Regions from separate parts of the Homo sapiens genome. Here region 1 is linked to region 2. Evidence: promoter capture Hi-C in human tissues and cell types (Jung and others, 2019). All regions are on one chromosome and are shown on one strand. The core of a region is centred on a gene start or on the middle of the fragment in contact, and the rest is flanking DNA. Distances in the headings are between cores, read along the strand shown.

Evidence for each region. The method cuts DNA at HindIII sites, captures the fragments that hold promoters and counts their contacts. A contact is called where the count stands out against the background at its distance.
Region 1: a fragment that was not itself captured here is called in contact with the fragment with the promoter of TXNDC12 in region 2 in 1 of the 25 tissues and cell types used here (dorsolateral prefrontal cortex).

Annotation. Positions count from the first base shown.
Region 1 is chr1:52,568,400-52,571,099 of GRCh38, forward strand. No RefSeq gene overlaps it. Among named protein-coding and RNA genes, the nearest start is that of TUT4, 17 kb to the left of the region's middle. The HindIII fragment of the contact is 3,672 bases long and covers 1-2,700 here.
Region 2 is chr1:52,053,828-52,056,527 of GRCh38, forward strand. It overlaps TXNDC12 (thioredoxin domain containing 12), which reads right to left and starts at 1,364. Exons shown (of 7, transcript NM_015913.4): 1 at 1,173-1,364. The coding sequence starts at 1,269. BTF3L4 (basic transcription factor 3 like 4) reads left to right here and starts at 2,468. Exons shown (of 6, transcript NM_152265.5): 1 at 2,468-2,552. RefSeq lists silencers at 1,388-1,792, 2,653-2,700 and enhancers at 1,958-2,671, 2,672-2,700. The HindIII fragment of the contact is 4,769 bases long and covers 1,016-2,700 here.

The DNA of each region.
Region 1 (2,700 bases), core at 81-2,580, 510 kb after region 2:
GCCGGATTGTCTCAGACTTTTAGTCCTTTCCTCCTCTCTCAAGGGGACACAGCTGACCTTTCCTAGGAGTAGCCTCTTTTTTTGTCCCCAAACTTCTCACCCCTGGGCTCTTCTATTCTCTTCAAATGGCACACATGCCATCCCTGAATTTGCAGGAGTTTCTTTCTGCCTGTTTCACGCCAAATATAGCTTTTTTTTTTTCACACCATGTTACCAAGGAATAATCTTAGTAGACCACTGTTAATACTTCTAGACCCCACCATGACTTCCTTCTGGTATTTATCCTCATCATACACTCCACGAAAGGATCACTTATATTATGCCCATATTTTCCTCATTCTATCCAAATCAGGATACATAAGAGCAGAAGTCTAAGCCTACTTATAATTACAATAAGATAGGATATTTGAAATCTGGGCTGTCCTCGGAAATCTGGGACATAATGTTGCTATAAATGCCACCTATCCAGAATCCAGCTCTCAAGCAGTTTCATAAGCAAGCACTCTGAACATCCTCAGCATTGTCAGGAAGTTTGTATATTACACTCAGACTAAAAAAGGATTTCCTCTCATTTTGTCCATTCTGGGAATCAGAATTTTGACTGCACATCAGGTGGGGTCTGGCCATCCAGGTTGCTATCTAGAAATCACCACATAGGGGGATTCTTCACAAAAAGTTTTTGTGAGCTTTTTATGAAAAATCTTTCACTGAGGCCAGGCGCAGTGGCTCACACCTGTAATCCCAGCACTTTGGGAGGCCAAGGGGCGCAGATCATCTGAGGTCAAGAGTTCAAGACCAGCCTGGACAACATGGTGAAACCCCATCTCTACTAAAAATAGAAAAATTACACGGGTGTGGTGGCAGGCACCTGTAATCCCAGCTACTTGGGAGGCTGAGGCAGGAGAATCGCTTGAACCCAGGAGGCAGAGGTTGCAGTGAGCTGAGATCGCGCCATGGCACTCCAGCCTGGGTGACAGAGTGAGACTACATCTCAAAAAAAAAAAAAAGAAAATCTTTCACTGAGAAAGGTTGAACCCAAGTCTGAAATGAAAGCATACAGTTTACTACCCATTGATTGATTTATGCAGAAATCTGTATAAAGATCTCCAAAGGTGGCTTAGTAGGTTCTGTTTTAAACTTTCAGTTCCTCCTCCCTAGAAAGTTAGGGAAACCTCTTAACCAATACGAGTTCCTCTGATCTGAGCTGAACTTTCCTTCTTCCACTATCCAAATTCTGCTGATTCTTTTCTGTCCAGGATATTCATCTAAGTCACCATGGTTGTATATGCTCAAGGTTCACTTTAAGTACAGTCTTAATCTTGTTTCTGAGGAAGTTTGCTTTCTCCAGTAGGTCTGCAAAACTTCCGCTTCTTATTTCCTATTGCCCCTGAAATGACATTTCTCCTTGTGAATTAATATGGGCCTGCCTACCTCTAGGTAATCCTGTTTTTGTCATGTATCTGTATTGCATTTTCTGTCCACTTTTGTCCTCTCTTACAGTGAAGGGAGCATTTTAAACTTTTTTGTTTCCATAGAACAGTAACTTGCTGGTTGGAAGACCCGAGTTTAACATGGACCCTCGGAGAAACATGACCCCCGGAGAAACATGGAGAGCCTGAGACATCCTGTGTAATTCAATAAATATCCACCCACTCCCACCCCCACCTTTGCTGGCTACAGCAGCTGGGGAAGTCAGAGGGAAGGAGGTTTTTTATGTTTTGTTTTGTTTTGTTTTGTTTTGGAGACGGAGTTTTACTCTTGTCGCCCAGGCTGGAGTGCAATGGCATGATCTCAGCTCACTGCAACCTCAGCCTCCTGGGTTCAAGCAATTCTCCTGTTTCAGCCTCCTGAGTATCTGGGATTACAGGCACACACCAAATCGCCTGGCTAATTTTTTGCATTTTTAATAGAAACAGAGTTCCACCATGTTAGCCAGGCTGGTCTCGAACTCCTGACCTCAGGTGATCTGCCCGCCTCGGCCTCCCAAAGTGCTGGGATTACAGGCGTGAGCCACCGCGCCTGGCCGGAAGGAGTTATTTTTGAGCATTTTATGCTGCTCAGTCTTGTGCAGACCGCACATACTGTAGAGTTCATGCACTTTTCTCCCAGTAGTGACTTTCAGCTCTTGCTTTACATGTAGTTCCAACAAGCTTGGATATTTAGTTTCCATGTCTATAGCAGATCAAAATTAACAATTAATGGGTGGGGGTTGGGAGGCCAGAATAAGATAGTTAAAAGCACAGATTCTGGAGTCAAACTGAGTCTTTGAATCCTGTGCTGCTGCTTCCTAACTGTATGACTTTGAAGTATTTAACCTTTTAGCTTCAATTTCCTCATCTGTAAAATGGGAATAATAATAATAGCTATTTTGCACAGTTGGTCATAAAGATTAAATAAGTTAATATATATGAGGTGCCTGCATTTGTAAGTACTCTGTGAGTATAGAGAGGGCGCATTGGTAACAGTACTGATGAGATGTAGCAAAGAAGCAAACCAACCAAAAAAAGCGGAGAAAACAGAGCAATCTAGGATCCAACTGTGTAAGACAGAGGTTCCCAAACTTTCTCAGCTCAAAGGCACCTTTAGTGTCTCAGTAATTTTTTCATGGTGACTTCTCCATGCCCACTCCTCCTACAAAAAAACCAAAGTAATAATTCTCTTTATTAAGTAGTTAAGTCCAAACAACTTAATCAGTATTTA
Region 2 (2,700 bases), core at 114-2,613:
TTCAAGTGATGCCAGCTCCACCAACCTCCCCAGCCTTTCTACTTCCTATTCCATCACAGTCTTATTGTTTTCCCAGCACTTGTTCCTAGTTGAAACTGTCTTATTAATTTGTTCATGAGTCTACTCTGTCTCTCTGACATGAATATAAGCTCCACCAGAGTAGGAACCTTGTCTGTCCTGTTTACAGCTATATCCCTAGTGCCTAGGACAGTGCCTGAAATATAGGAGGTGATCAAAAATTATTTACGGAATGAAGGAATGATTGCATTCAGGCAAAATGAATGCCCACCCAATCTTATTACTCACCAATAGATGTGAAAATAGAGAGGATAAGAGAAAACAAAAACAGAAGGATTGCAGCAGAATCATTCCATACAGTAAGGTCAGTGAAAAAAAAAAAAGGAAGAGGGGTTGGGATCCATGCTACAATTCATCTACTTAGAAAAGCATAAACTCTGAGTTCACAGACTGTCAGTCCAACTTTCAACTAAGTAAGGGCTGATGAGGAGAGAGGTGTTAAAACTTAGAATGGAGATGTAGGTAATGGATGGAGTAGGGGGCCACACCTCCTAACCTCCATTCATAACCACTGATCGCTCACTTACAAAAAAACTTCGCTGAACCACAGCAAGGACAATTGTTGGGGACCCTTAAACAGCAGACCTTCTACCATTCGCTTGGCTCTTCTTATGCACTAGATACAGCTACCTGGGATGCAGGTGCTGTTTCCCAAAGGCAAGCAAGTGGCAGTAACCTAGCTCTTCGCGGAAGAAGTAACGAGAGAAATCTTCAGACCCAGAACAGGGTCCTCTGCATATGCAGGTCCCCAACGGCTCTATTTCTCCCAGGTGGGAAGGTGACCGTTCCTCAGGACCTCCCAAGTGCTAGGCACTATGCTGGGCTCTTAACATGCTTTCCTTAATTTACGGGCCATTCCTTCCCCCCAATCCAATAATTTAGAGAGGCCTCAAGTACAACTTCTCCATTCCCCAGACCCGCTACTCTCTACCCCAAGAAATCTTCAAACTCCAGGAGCGGTTGGGGAAGATAAAAAGAAATCTGGAGTGGCCTAAGAGTTAGAATGGGAGGGGAACGGTGCTAGGGCAAGAAGAGATTATACTGGGATCAGTATAGTAAAGATCAGTAAAGAGAAGATAAGAACGCGGTCTGACCCTTTCCAAGCCCATTATGTCCATCAGAAGAGATGACGAGGAGCAGGAAACTGAAGCCCAGCAAACAGGTGGCCCCGAGACGAGGCCGCGTCTCCATGGCAGTAGGTGCGCGGGGCCACGGGGCTGAGCGGACGCAGGGCCGGAGTCCCAGCAGACGGTCCACACAGTTCGCCGAGCGCCGCTCAGCACAACACCTCTACTTCCCAGATTTTTTTTTTTCAAACTCTGAAGGAAGTGATGTTAGACGGATGTGGGTGGTGCCTCCGGGGTCCGGTTTGGGATGGAGTGAGCTTAAAGGTGCAGATCACGTAGAAGGGTACGAGAGCTGTTCTCGAGCGCGAGTTGCTTTTCGTGGATTCTGGGTGTCCAGGTCCCGGGACGGAGCGGGAAAATGTAGGCCAAGATAGTAGGGGCGGGGGAGAGGTTCGGGAGAACCGTTGCTCCTCGCGTCCGCCACCCAGTCCAGCCCCTCCCCCCAAGAACCGCTGCACTTCCTAGTCAAAAGCAAATTATTGATTCGTGAGGTCAGTCGCTCCCAACAGTGGGCGGATTGCCCACTGGCCTCGGATTCTCCTTACCCCTCCACAAATCAAGACTGGACAACTGGATTTCATTGTTAGGTTCCTGCGAGGGTCTCTGAGGAGACCTGGCAAGCCTGTTCTGCGGTGCGTGGGCTCGTGCCGTGCAGACATGCACTTTCCCGCTGGAGAAGCTCTGTACCTTATTTTTCCTTGCAACCGCAAATCTTCTACTCAGGGATGATGCAACCAACTGATGCAAGCTCCAAGAAAACCAAACTTGGGACCTCTTATTGCAAAACTGACTTAGGTGGACTTAGGACACCAGGATATAAGTCACTGCAGGCTAAAGTGTAAAGCTTCTGGTTATTTTTCTTGTAGCTTGAGGATTTCTTCCCAATTTTTCCCCTTCGCTGTATAACAAACAGGTGAAAATGTCCGGTCTTTTTCTTCCTGGTACTAGTTGAGTCCTAAAGTCCGTACTTAATGCATAGCGAAAAAGCGACCTAACAAAAGTACACACCCAAATAAAAACATACCGACCACCCTTTTATTAGGTTCCCTAAAATTGTAGGCAGGGACACAACAGAACGCTCGGGAGACTGCAAGCCCCAGGATGCCGCGCGGCCACCTGCACCTGCCGCCACTAGCACTAAGAGGGATGCGCAAAGCAGGCGGGGCGTTGGAGTTCAGATGTTCGCTCCCGGGATAGGCTGCCCCGGAGAGGGAGAGGCGGGGTCGGCTGTATCACGTGGATCTGCTCCCGCCGCCGCCGCCGCCGCCGTCGTCTTTCTCTGTCTCGGCTGAGGCAGCCATCTTTCTCTTGCCGCGTGCTGGTGTTGGAGGACCCTCCCTGCTTCAGGTGAGACCCCCGGCGGTCCCGCCACTTCACGGCCATAGGCCGCTGCGCACGGTCTCCCCCCGCCCTCCCCTTCCGACACCCGCCAACCGCTCAGGCTGCCACTTCCGCCGTGGTGCGGCGAGCGGGGGCGGAGGCGGCTGGCTTGGCC